3 separate regions of the Homo sapiens genome follow, and regions 2 and 3 are each linked to region 1. The links are contacts of gene promoters, found by promoter capture Hi-C in human tissues and cell types (Jung and others, 2019). All regions are on one chromosome and are shown on one strand. Each heading gives the region's core, a stretch centred on a gene start or on the middle of the fragment in contact. The rest is flanking DNA. Distances are from core to core; before and after follow the strand shown. Region 1 holds the start of OR2S2 (olfactory receptor family 2 subfamily S member 2). Region 2 overlaps FAM221B (family with sequence similarity 221 member B). Region 3 holds the start of GLIPR2 (GLI pathogenesis related 2).

The links. The method cuts DNA at HindIII sites, captures the fragments that hold promoters and counts their contacts. A contact is called where the count stands out against the background at its distance.
Region 2: a fragment that was not itself captured here is called in contact with the fragment with the promoter of OR2S2 in region 1 in 1 of the 25 tissues and cell types used here (mesenchymal stem cells).
Region 3: the fragment with the promoter of GLIPR2 here is called in contact with the fragment with the promoter of OR2S2 in region 1 in 1 of the 25 tissues and cell types used here (IMR-90 fibroblasts).

What each region holds. Positions count from the first base shown.
Region 1 is chr9:35,956,317-35,960,323 of GRCh38, forward strand. It overlaps OR2S2 (olfactory receptor family 2 subfamily S member 2), which reads right to left and starts at 1,838. Exons shown (of 1, transcript NM_019897.2): 1 at 792-1,838. The coding sequence starts at 1,782. The coding sequence ends at 823. The HindIII fragment of the contact is 4,346 bases long and covers 1-4,007 here.
Region 2 is chr9:35,817,092-35,821,757 of GRCh38, forward strand. FAM221B (family with sequence similarity 221 member B) reads right to left here. Exons shown (of 7, transcript NM_001012446.4): 4 at 2,799-2,909; 5 at 2,106-2,303; 6 at 1,799-1,918; 7 at 1-1,415. The coding sequence ends at 1,378. Among named protein-coding and RNA genes, the nearest start is that of HINT2, 4.4 kb to the left of the region's middle. The HindIII fragment of the contact is 5,842 bases long and covers 1-4,171 here.
Region 3 is chr9:36,133,922-36,138,393 of GRCh38, forward strand. GLIPR2 (GLI pathogenesis related 2) reads left to right here and starts at 2,812. Exons shown (of 5, transcript NM_022343.4): 1 at 2,812-2,870. The coding sequence starts at 2,858. RefSeq lists silencers at 2,464-3,033, 3,064-3,113. The HindIII fragment of the contact is 26,005 bases long and covers 1-4,472 here.

The sequences.
Region 1 (4,007 bases), core at 588-3,087:
ACTGTACTCTCGTCTGGGTGACACAGCGAGACTCTGTCTCAAAAAAAAAAAAAAAAAAGAAATTAGACCCAAAGTCTTCAAACATGTGTAGCCACCATCTGTCTACTTCTATCTATATCTATCTACCATCATCTTTTTTCTAGAACATGATTTGGCATCTATCAGAATACAAGCTTTGCTGTTGTGAAATTCTGTAAGAACGTCAAATTTGAACTCATTACTCCTTGAATTTTATTTAATTTACTAGGTGGTGTTCAATGATCTGCAGTGCATCAGGAAAAAATAGCCTAAATTTTCTCATAGCTAAAAAGATATTCAGTCATCAAAATAGATTATTCACAACTAAAAGCTCCCTAAGTGAAGAACTTACCTTTTCTTAGCCATTCAGGCAAACTGAGTGTAATAAACTGAAGCCTCAGTAAAAGTTTCCACTCCCTCCTTATTTCTCTGATTTCCCTGGTGAATCCAGTAGGGCTGGTAAGTTGCTGTGAGAACATTCTCACGTCCCTGTTCTAACTCTAGAGCTGAGACACTCTAAGGGCCATGCGTCATGCTTTCATGGCTGCTGTCTCGTGTGGTTTTACCGTATGTTCAGAATGCCTTCATCACAGTTGATTATTTATTGAGTCTGGTGTCTGTTGAAGCTGTCAGACATAGGACTAAAACTCAGGAGATATCGTCTGAAAAGTTTAATATCTCCTGCAAATGGACTTAGAGTGAGAAACCATTATAGGTCACATGACTTGGCTTTTGAATGGCAGCTGATGTGATTGTGATTCCTTACTTCCATGTGGGTGACAATCACAGAGGACCCTTCCACCATCACTGAGTGAAGCCTTTTGGTCTCAGCAGTCTCCTCACAGCAGCCTTCACATCCTTGTTCCTCAGGCTATAGATGATGGGGTTGAGCATCGGGGTCACCACCCCATAGAAAAGGGGGATGAGTTTGTCTGAAAGATCCTCTTTGTCTGCTCCCATGGAGTCCTTAGACTTAGGCTTCCCATACATGAAGAATAAGGTCCCGTAGAAGACGATCACCACGGTGAGGTGGGCAGAGCAGGTGGAGAAGACCTTTTTCCTCCCCTCAGCTGAGGGGATCCTCAGGATGGTGGTGATGATGAAGACATAGGAGAAAGAGATGAACAGAACCGGGACTCCTAGGAAGATCACATTCGTCACCTCCATGCTGATCACATTGATGGAAATGTCAGCACAGGCCAACTTTAGAACAGCCAGAATCTCACAGGTGAAGTGGTTGATGACATTGTCTCCACAGAAGGGCAGCTGAATTGCCAAGGATGTGTGTACCACGGAAGCAGCACCACCAATAGCCCAGGAGCTGGCAGCCATGGGCATGTAGGCAGCCTTGCTCATGATCACGGAGTACCTAAGGGGGTTGCAGATGGCCACATAGCGATCAAATGCCATCATGCTCAGGAGCAAGCACTCTGTTCCTGCCATGGCAAAGGAGAGTGCCATCTGCACAGCACAGGCTGAGAAGGAGATGGTTTCCTGGGGAGTCAAAAAGCTGTCCAGGACCAGTGGGACTGAGGAGGTAGTGAAGCAGATGTCCAGGAAGGAGAGGTTCCCTAGGAAGAAGTACATGGGCGTGTGCAGGCGGGAGTCAAGGATGGTCACCAGGATGAGGACCCCATTGCCCAGCAGGATCACGAGGTACATCAGCAGGATGAGCACGAAGAATGTCTTTTCCAGCTCTGGGTGGGCAGAGAGCCTCAGGAGAACGAACCCCATCACAGGGGAGGTCTCATTGGCTTTTTCCATGTGATATCCCCTCTGCCATCAGCAAAGTACTGAGCAGCGCATCAGGCTTTTTGGGAAGAGTCCTAGGCATCTAATATGTGGTCAAGTTCCCATTGCATAATAGAAGAACATATCTGTGCAAGAGAAAAATGACGGAAAGAGACAGTAGGGGGTGTCTTAGAAGACAGAAGGTCAGAGCTGGACAGGTAGTGGGTGAGGGCCTCAAATGTCCGGTTGTGCATGAGGGATTTTTCTGAAGTTGCTGCACCCTCTCAGTGTCCACAAAGGTGATAGAGGCCTGGGGAGGAGAAGTGACCTGTCCAAATCTTCTGAGCAAGTTGGTGACAGAGACAAGACTTGAACCCAGCAGAGCATATCCCTGGCCCAAGGAGGGCTTTTCCTCTTCATTGTGATTAAGTGCTAGGAAATGCTATGAATTATTTCTCTTTAATGCAAATCCACAGCAATTTCATTTGATCTGGGCTTTCTTAGATTCTCAGAGAGGAAAATTCCCAAGAAGATGCAATTCTTGGACCTAGCAAGTGATTAAGTTTCTTTAAACTTTGATTACACGTGGGGAGGAAATTGCGCAAAATTGTTCAACCATATTCACACAGAAACAAGCCTAGTTAATATTCAGCCATAAAGAGCATTACTTCTTCAGTCTAGTGACACAGGCTTGAGCATTGACAGGAATAGATCTGCCTATTTGAAATATGGATTTATTGCAATATATGGGGAGGTCCTATAGCTGGGAAATTTATGAAGCCAACAAATGGATTTGTTGGAGTGACTGAACTCACACCATGAGACAACACTGTGTAGCTTACCAGTTAGTTAATGCAATATTAATAACCACACTCTAACTATAGTTATCGATAGTAGAGTATATGGCATTAACTTCTGATCCCATCTCATTAGGATGTCTGTGAAATTCCTAACCGTGAATGACTAAGAATGTTTTTTCTTTGTCCTTTTATGTTTGCATTTTATTCTTGCATTATCTTCTGACTCTCTGACTCCATTCTTGAGTTCTATGCAAGCAGCTGGCTTATAGGAAGACTTATATGCCTTTGTATAGAGGATATCTAGTCTCTTACTTGCAATTTCCCTGACTCTAAATTCAAAGTACTCATAGATAATATTTTGATAGCTCCTTCTTAATGACAGTGGCTCTATGAGTGTGTATAAGAGTGGGTGGATGATGGAAGATGAGTGGTTAATATTAATATTAGTGAGAATATTAGGGATTCTCACTAATATTAAGGAATATAAGCTGTGCCATATTTCTTGAAACAGCTCATGGAGAAGATATTATCATTCAGGTTTTACAGGTGAAGTAACTGGAGCTCAGAAGATAAATTTGCTCCTTGGGGTTGAATGGCAGAGCTGGAGTTGGATTCCAAGACCTAGTCCTGAGTTCTTTCACGAAACAGCTGCTTTTCTCTTTTGGTGCACAGCTTTGCAAAAGATTCTGTCCCTCCAATATTAGACAGATCTTATAGTCCTATTTATAATTTTCTCTGTGCTAATATTGCTATAGCATAATGATAAATTAAAAGGACAAAGTCAAACTTGTACACACTGTTATGATCTCAATTAGCTCTGTGTATTCTCTGGCCAGTCTCACTGTCTGTCCAACACTCTCTCTTCAGTCATGGGGGAGGGTTTATGTCAGATGTGTTGTCAGGCAGTGCACCTCCCACCCTAAATGGAACTCAGGGTTTCTCAAATTCTTTACGATTGACATTTTGTGCTGGATAACCCTTTGGTGTGAGGGCTGTCCTGTGCATTGTAGGATGTTTAGCAGAGTCTCTGACCTCCACCAATCAGTTGCCAATAGCACCTTCTACCCTGAGTTGTAACAATCAAAATGTTTCCAGACGCTGCCACATGCTTCCAGGGGAAAGGTGTGTGTGTTGGGGCGGGGGGGGGGGGGTTGGCGGGGGGGACGGTGCAAAATTATACCCAGAAGAGAACGATTGGTCTAACCCAGGAGAAGCTTCCCCCATTACACAACCATGGGTCTCAAGGTATTTCCTGTGCAATCCTATTCCCCTCTTCCCATCCCTTCATACAGCACAGAAGGGTGTTCCTGGTTGCTCAGTGCAAGCTGACCCCCTCTGAGTGCCCCACCCTGAACTTCCACCCCAGCTTATCTCCTGTTCCTCCTAGTGCACCTCTCACCCACTCCAGAAAATGAAGAAAAGCAAACATTATATTCAGTGCCACAAACCAGATTCAAG
Region 2 (4,666 bases), core at 1-2,500, 140 kb before region 1:
TTTACAGGTCCAGAAACTCAGCCTAAAGAGGGACAGTGACTTGCCTGGGTTCACAGAGCCCATTAGTGCTGGAATCTCCTACTCCCATAAGAACCTATGGACTCCCTTGTGACTTCCCACATTCACTGATTTTGATCCTTGGCCCACAGTTTTCTCTACTTCAAGCACTTATCACCTTCACTTGCCCTCATCTGAAAGATGTTATGCTCTGCAGCCTCTGAACACTGTCTCTTGTACTCCAACCCCTGCCCCTACGTCTGCTACTGTACCTCATTAGAGACTTCTCTTCCTTTGACTGCTCCCTTTTTCAATCTGTCATTTGCCTCCTGGCATCACTTTCTTTCCCTATTGGTGCTGTATGCTCCCTTCACATCCTCATGCCTTCTTTTGCTTAGTTTTCCTGATCTTCCTCCCTGACACCCTCACATCATCAACCCATTAAATATTTGGATTCTCTGCTTCTCTAACTAGGTTCTCACTTCCAACTGTGCCCGAATCCTGAACTACCCACTGATGAGGTTTTTCTCCAGTTCCCTACATTAGCCTTCCCAAACCTTCCCCTTTCTCTTCTTGTCTCCTGCTCCCTACTCTTATCCCTCTTCCCCTGGACCCCAGCCATTGGCCTTATCTCCTACTTCACAGGGCATATAGAAGCCATCAGAGGGGAACTTCCACAGGTTCTTGTTCCCTGAAACTCTAGGAAGGCTCCATCCTCTTCCTTCGTCTTGGTCATAGGAAGTGGTGTTTCTCCTGTCCAGAGAAAATCCCTTCACCTCTGCTTTGACCTCATCCCTTTCCTCCATCTCTGGGATCTTGTCTCACCAGGCATCTCTTCTCTCTCTTCTGGGTCCTTCAAGGTCCTTTAGTCTACTGGCCTCTTCCCCTTTTCCTTCCTACAAAAGTACTTCCTTGACTCCACAACTCCCTCTGGATATTGTCTGACTTTACTTTTGTACTTTTCATCCAAGCTTCTTTAAGAGACTCCTTGAAACTCACTGCTGTTTGACTCCTGCCTCCACTGCACCAGTGTGAAACTGCACTCTCCGATGTTCCCAAAGATCTTCTAATTGCAAAACCCAATGGACACTTTTCAGTCTTTATCTTATTGGTGCCCCAACTGCATCTAACATCACTTCCCACTCTATCCTTCTTGAAACTTCCTCCCTTCTTGACTTCCTTGAAGCCACTTTCCTTCAACAGGCAGCTTGAATGTGAGTGTGATGGAGGCAGATGGCCAGATCCAGGCTTTCTCCTGTGTCTAATAGGTGTCAACTCTAAGTTATTAGGCAGTCTCTCCCTGGGCTGGGATCTACCTGCCCCATATAGAGCCAAGTCAGGTTCCAATGACTCCTCTTTTATTGCTGATCTGGGCCAGACTCACAAAGGCCTGTGCCAGTTGCTGACAGTGTCTGTCCCTGGAGGAAGAAAGAGCAGAGGTGAAAGGGTCAGGTATGGGGGTCAGAAGGGAGGCCAGGCTGGAGACCGTGTGAACCAGGGAGCCCCGGGGGACTAGGGTGGGAGCTGGGAAGGCCAGAGGGCCCCTGTATCTGCAGGGCCTAGAAGTCAGAGTTGCTGAGGATGGCTTCTCGGAGCACAGCCATCTCTGCAAAAGGTACATAGTCTGCTCCTGGGGGTGAAAACCAGTGCAGATGTGGGATGCAGGTAGGTGGGTGGTGGGGAGGTGGGCTGAGGGAGCGCGCTAGTCCTGGAAGGGATGGTTGAGGATGGGAGTGCCTTCCTGCCTGGCCTTCTGACTACAGACCCTGGAATGGCCCCCTGTCCCAGGTTTCTGCCTCACCGCGAGGCCTTCCTCCTCGTTGCCGGGTCTTCTGGGTGTCAAAGAAAGTCTCGTGTTCCTCCCAGCGCCGGTCACAGGCCGCACAGAGGAAATTAGACTCAAAACAGCCGCAGCAACAGCCTGGGGCAAAAGTGCAGCCAAGAAGAGTTTAGGAAATGGTGGTATCCCCAGGAGCTGACCACATTCTCATCTCTTCCTCAGTGACCGCATGCCCAAGGCTCTCATACCTGCTCTCCATCATTATCCCCAGATTGCATCCTATCCCCACCTACCCTGCTCCCAATACACCTCTTGCCCTAGAAGTTACCATGATGCCTGCAGGGATGGGGCCCAGTGGCTGCATGTTCTTCGTGGCTGTGTTTGCAGCGACATTGGGCCCTCCAGGCCTTGGGGTCAAAGGTGGCCCGTCTCTTGAGCCAGAACTCACCCACCTCCTCTGGGCGTGATGGGATAAAGCAGAACATGAAGCAGCGGCACTGGCTTACCTTGCAGGGCACCGATATGTCTGTGGGATTGGGGATGGATGGTAGGGTTAATCTGATAGGACCTTGCCTTCTCATGCCAACCCCATCCTCCATCCCCACCACCCCCTATGCACGCAGACATGCTTTTTTTTTTTTTGAGATGGAGTTTTGCTCTGTCGCCCAGGCTGGAGTGCAGTGGCATGATCTCAGTTCACTGCAACTTCCGCCTCCTGGCTTCAAGTGACTCTCCTGCCTCAGCCTCCTGAGTAGCTGGGACTACAGGTGCGTGCCACCATGCCTGGCTAAATTTTTTGTATTTATTTATTTATTTTTTAGTAGAGACGGTGTTTCACTGTGTTAGCCAGGATGGTCTCGATCTCCTGACCTTTGATCCACCCGCCTCCGCCTCCCAAAGTGCTGGGATTACAGGGGTGAGCCACCGTGCCCAGCCACATGCTCTCTCTCATACTTCCCAAGACATGACAGAGTACAGTTATTCCTCCACACTCGAGAGGGGCTGGTCAGTTCTCCCCTACCTGAGATGATCCGGTGCTCTCTCAACAAGTGTCCACAAAAGCATCTGGACTCATCCCCAATCCGGAAACAGTCCCATAGGTAATGGGGGCAGCGCCAGCCAATGTAGAGACCTAGGTATGCAGGATTAAAAGTGAGAAGTAAAAAAATTCTAAGCTCCCCCGAAGTGTTCTTACCTATCCCTTGATGGAGGTGAGGGGGTGGGGGGAACTTACCTCTCCCCACCCCCAGGTATCTTTATCTCCACCTGGAAGTCCTCACCTCTACCCCTTAGATTTTCTTTTTCCTCAGGGTTTTCTCATTACCCCAGAAGTGTCTTCAGTTCTCTTCCTACCCAGGATCTACTCCATCTTTGTCAGCCTGCCAGAGATGACTCAAGAGAGTGGTTTCTGAGCAGGAAGATTATAGATGAAATTTTGTTTGAGGATGAACATGAATCTCACTGAGTTCTCTGTGACCACAGGGATTCTCATCTCCTCTCCTCATCCCACTAAAGCCCAACTTTGCTTTGTTTTCTTGAAGTGTCTAAGGTGAGGGAAAGGGAAGATGATTGGCCAGATGTACAGACAATGGGATTGGCTCCTAAGGAGCATATTTATTGAAGGTCCTGAAGAGGAGAAGGAGGTTGGATAGCTCTGGTGCTGGAAGGTAGGAGGAGGGCTTCCTCTCACGTCTCCACGTTGGTACCTTAATACCTCCCTCTGTGTTCCTGGTGCTATTGTACCAATGCTCTCTGTGTACCTAAGAAGGGCTGCCAAAGGTTCTTCAAGGGTCAGGAGAAAGGGGTAGGTAGCAGTCATGAGTGGTGAAGACCAAAAATTATATATTTTGAGGCTAAGCAAGGAGGCGTGGAAAGGAAAGTGAGGCTAAGAAGTGTCCCTGAGAGTAGGCACCAGCAAGAGGTCACAACCCTCGAGAGCTGGTGTTCAGCAGTGAGGTCTGAATCCCTGGCTTCGTGACTAGTCTTGAGGTGAGGGTGGTGCTGTGCAACTGAGGGAGGATAACCAGATGGCACCTCCAATTCAGATTTTCTCATTCTCCATGAGAACTGAGAGTACCCCAACTTCTAGCCAAGAATCCTGTATGAGGCCCCATGCAGTGGGACTGCCAGGTGTAGGATTCTTAGTCCCAATTAAAGGCTCAACTGAAATGTCACCTCCACCAAAAAGGTGTCCCTGACTTCCCCTGTCTGTCTGGGCCCCTCCTATTGCCATCCATAGCTCCTTGTGCTACTCCTGTTGCAGTACACTGCATTATAATAGATCATTCCCTTGTATTCCTATTAGTCCATGAGTTCTTCAAGGGAGCTGTCTTTTCACCCGTATCTCTCATCCTAGCACAAGGCCTGGCACAAAATGGTTGCTGAGAGAACGTAGATTGCCTGATTAAACAATTGAGCTCATTCCTTCAAGAGGAAGAGAGAGCCAGTATTCAGGCATAACCCTGAGGTTCCATAACATGAATAAGGAGAGTGGCATCATCTGGTCTTTGACTGTGGTCAGGGCCACAATTCACAATTCCGTGCCTCAGATTAAGTTTTCTTGTCTTACCCATAGTCTGTCAGGATCTAAAGCCTGTCTAGATGTGGCTTTTGGCTTTGCTTCTTCTGTCTTGATGCTGATTGCCTGTAGTGCCAGTGCCCCCTTACACCAGGGAGGCTTTGTTGAGAGAGCAAGGTATAGGCAGTCACAATGCAGGTGGGCGGGAGCCAGGATTCCACTAGAGGAGTTCCGAATTCTGTCTGGAGTAGCAGGATACATTAAAAAAGCAGGAGGTGAGGCCCAAAGATCAAGGCCTGCTCGGAGGGCCGGGGGGCAGTCAAGTCCAAGCACTAGTGTAGGAATCAGTGCCCAGCATTCAGATGAAGAAG
Region 3 (4,472 bases), core at 1,562-4,061, 180 kb after region 1:
CATTTGGTCAATTTTTGTATTTATTCCATACAAATTTGAAAATAATGTTATCGGGCCGGGAGTGTTGGCTCACGCCTGTAAACCCAGCATTTTGGGAGGCCGAGGCGGGTGGATCACCTGAGATCGGGAGTTTGAGACCAGCCTGGCCAACATGGAGAAATCCCGTTTCTACTAAAAACACAAAAATTAGCTGGATGTGGTGGCACATGCCTGTAATCCCAGCTACTGGGGTCAAGGGGAGGGCACTGAGGCAGCAGAATTGCTTGAACCTGGGAGGTGGAGGTTGCAGTGAGCCAAGATCAAGACACTGTACTCCAGCCTGGGCAACAGAGGGAGACTGCATCTCAAAAAGAAAAAAGAAAATAATGTTATCAAGTATGAATGGTATTAATACAAATTAAAAGGCAGATATTGTCAGACAGGATTTAAAAAAAAGACCTAACTGCATCTTGTCAACTATAAGATGTCTATTTTAAATATAAAGAAACGGTTAAAAGTTAAAAGATGGAGTAGTGGTGGCTGGGCGGGGTGGCTCACGCCTCTAATCCCAACACTTTGGGAGGCCAACGTGGGTAGATCACTTGAGTTCAAGGCCAGCCTGGCCAATATGGTGAAACCCCGTCTCTACTAAAAATACAAAAAATTAGCTGGGCATGGCGGCACATGCCTGTAATCCCAGCTACTTGGGAGGCTGAGGCAGGAGAATTGCTTGAACCCAGGAGGTGGAGGTTGCAGTGATCCGAGATCGCACCACTGCACCCCAGCCTATGAGACAGAGCGAGACTGTCTCAAAACACACACACACACACACACACACACACACACAAAGACAATACATTGGGTCAATCACTCTTCTTTGTGTCTGACCTTTGTGGCCATTTGTCTCTTGTGTCTGATGCCTGGACAGCGACTCCCTCTCCAACTAGCCCACGGCCCTTGGTCGGGGTTGACTTTGGCACTGCCCTAACACCCTCCATTCAGCACCCTGTTCCTTCATGTGCCTGCTGCTAAGGTTATGAATTTCTAAGTTAGGAAATGCATCCACTCTCAGCCCCTCTCACCTCCAGTCCTCAGACCTCAAGGTGTCAGTGAAACATGGTGGTCCCAGATGGGCTTCCCTCTGCGTGCAGTGAGCAGCCCGCTGAGCCTCACTGTCTCCACCCACGGCCTTAAAGTTTTTGTTATGTGAAATACAGCCTTCTAGAGATTCTAGGGGCAACATGGAATTCTTCCTACTGTGTTTATTTGATTATTTCAATAGGCATTTGTTGACAAAATGGGAGAGGGAATTGAATAGAGGGGGTTAGATCCCCACCTAGCACCAGGAGTCCCTTTTGTTTGTTTATAGAGATGGGAGGGGGGGTCTCACTATATTGCCTCAGGCTGGTCTTGAACTCCTGGGCTCAAGAATCCTCCCACCTCCGCCTCCTGAAGTGCTGGGATTACAGGCGTGAGCCACCGCACCCAGCCCCAGGAGTCCCTTTTGAATCAGGGTTGGGCACCAATTTGACCCATACTGAATACTTTAGGTGACTGTAACACAATGGTAAAAATTTGCATATATAAACAGATGTAAACATAGAAACATAGTAAAAATATGGTATCATAATCTCTTGGGACTACCACAGTATATGTGGTCTGGCATTGACTGAAATGTCATTACTCATGACGGTACTAAAATACAGTAGGTGTATTTGCCTGACATGGGGAAAGGAATAGAGAGCACAGTGCCCAGCCATCGCCCTGCGGGACATTCGTAAGCCGTTGGTATTACAAATTCTAGCCTTATCATCAGTGGGTCAGCTCACTTCAGTGCCCATTCATTGAAAAGCCTTAAAATTCGCTTCCTTCATTTGGGGTGTACTGAGCCCCTTCCCCAGAAAGGAGCGCTTGCGGGAAGTCTGGCACAGGTGACTAGGGCTGTGCGGTCAAGTAAGTGCACTTCTCCCACGGGGCAGGGGCCATGGGTGGGACCACATCTCCCCAGTACCTGGTGTGTGCTGCTCCCAGGGTCAGGGCACCTGGCAGTTGGAAAGACCGGCCGACCCCGAGGGATGGGCAGCACTGGAATGGTGGCTCCAGGGCCAGCACTCCCGGAGGAGGGACCGCCTGAGGAAAGGCAGGGAGGTGGGAAATCCCAGAACATGTTTGGGGAATGACAAGACATCTAGTTTGACTGGAGTATGGGGAAAAGGTGGGGCGTTGGGGAGACAGGTCTGGGGCCAGACTGCAGGGGTGGGAATTGGCTTGGTCTGGGAGGCAATGAGGGGCGAGTGGACGGGTCAGAGGCGGCGGCGCTTCCACCCCGACTGGCATTAGAGGGCGTGTCCTAGGAGAGGAGCATCCCCCTCCCCGGACCAGCCGCCCTCCGGAGCCCAGAGTCACCGGAGATGGGGGCACACCCCGGGGCTGCGTGTGTCGTGTCAGGCCGCGGCAGGGAGAGGCCGTCCCCTGGTGGCGCCGGCCGGAACGCCCCTCGTGCCGCGACCGCGCGCCCCTCTGTCCTCGCCGCGCGTCGGCGCAGAGCAGCCACCCGGGGCCCAGCAGGCGCGGGCTTCCCCACGCGCCCCGGGAAGGGACAGCTCGGTGTGGGGTCCGGGAGGCTTGAGCCCCGCGGCCGCATCCGGGGAGCCCTCGGCAGTCGCGGAGCTGCTTCCCAGGGGTGAGCTCTCCGGGAGGCCCACGGGGTGGCCCCGGGCGCCTCCGCCCTCAGCTGTCGCTCCTTATAAGGCGGGGGCCGGGCGGCGCCGGAGGAGGGGCCGCGGCATCAGCCCGGTCCTGGGCTCTGGGGCGGCGCTGGGCCGGGCGAGCGCAGTGCAGCGCAGCCGCGGGGAGCGAGGAGCGCGCGGAGCCGGCCATGGGCAAGTCAGGTGAGCCCGCGGGCTCGCCCGCTGCGGAATGGTTCGGAACCCCGCGCTCCCGGACCTCGCCGTCTCCCTCGTCCGCCGCAAGCCAGGTCCTGGGGAGTGCGGGAGCCCGGGGTGCGGGTGGAGGGCGCGCGGGCGGAGCGCCCCGGCGCGGTTTCCGGGGAACCCGGGGGGAAGGCGAGCCCGAGGGAGGCCCCCGCCGGAGAGCCGGGGATCGCGCCAAGTTGGGCTTCCCGACCCTGAGGGGCTGCGCGCCGCGGCCCGCCAAGGCGTGGCTTCTGCTTTGTTTCAGGAGGCCAGACTTAGAGTTGGAAAAGTCACCAAAGTGTGACAACAGCTCTCGCTGCGAAGCAGTTTGCCCCGCTCGGCTGTCCCGAGGACAGCCCTGAGCATCCCCCTCATCCATTTGTTGTTCCTTCTCTCCTGAGCGCCCGCGCCGTGCCGGGCTCCCCCTGTGCTAGGCTCGGTCTGGCTCCCTTTCTCCTGGGGCACCCCATCCTCTCTACTGTGGCTGTCGGGATGAACTTTCTGCAGCGCAGCTCTCCTCCTGTCGCTCCCTAACACCTTCCTCACCATTGTCCTCAGAGTGAAAGGACACACTCCAGTCCTGCCTTCGGGCCCCTGGGAGTGGGTCCCTAGCCCTTACCTCCGCCCTACACTAGAGCTGTCCAGAAGCTGGTGCACAGGTCCCTTCCCCTAGGTTTCCTTGCCGGGCCTTCACCACCCCAACTCTCAGCCTGAAAATCCCATCCCTCTAGGCTCAGCTCCTGGGCTGGAGCCCATCTGTGATTCCCCCCGGGAGGGAGCGCCCAACCTGGTGTTTTCCTCGCTGCAGCCCTTCCTGTAGTGGGCCGGGGACAAGAGTTCAGCCATAGACCTGTTTCCCACCGGGTCCTCACCCCTGGCTGCCAGGGGCCGTGTTTATCTCAGCATTGCTTCTGCCTCACAGGAGGCTCTTAGAGAACAGCTGTTGAACAGGATTCAGAAGTCCTGCTTCATCCGGATTGTCCACTTCAGATGAGTAAGGCTAGGTCCCTTCTAGGATCTGTCCTCCAAGATCTGGACTCAGGAGATGCCAGCGCTGGGCGCAAGTGGCTTTCCCTGGCCTTGGTCCTAACCAGCCTTCCTAGGCTGTAGAGGCAGGTCTGGCTTTCAGCCCTGGCCCAGCCAATCACTGGCTGTGTGATACTGAGCAAGCCTCCTTCCCTCTGTTCCTCCCTGTCTGTACAATGAGGGTGGCCGTATGAGCCCTGGGGTTCTTCACAGTATGGAAAGGTGATATAATGGGTTGCCATTTAGTTAACAGGATGACAGATGGTGATGGAGCAAAAGTATGGCAGATGAGAGCGAGTCTTTCGAGATATCTGCTTGGGAAATCAACTCCTTTCTCTGTAGAAATTTGTGGAGAAAATCCACAAATTCCCTTAGGCTACTTTTTTTTTTTCTTTCTTTCTGAGACGTGGTCTCCTTCTGTTGCCCAGGCTGGAGTGCAGTGGTGCGATCTCGGCTCACTGCAACCTCCGCCTCCCAGGTTCAAGTCATTCTCCTGCCTCAGCCTCCTGAGTAGCTGGGATTACAGGTGTGCGCCACCACGCCCAGCTAACT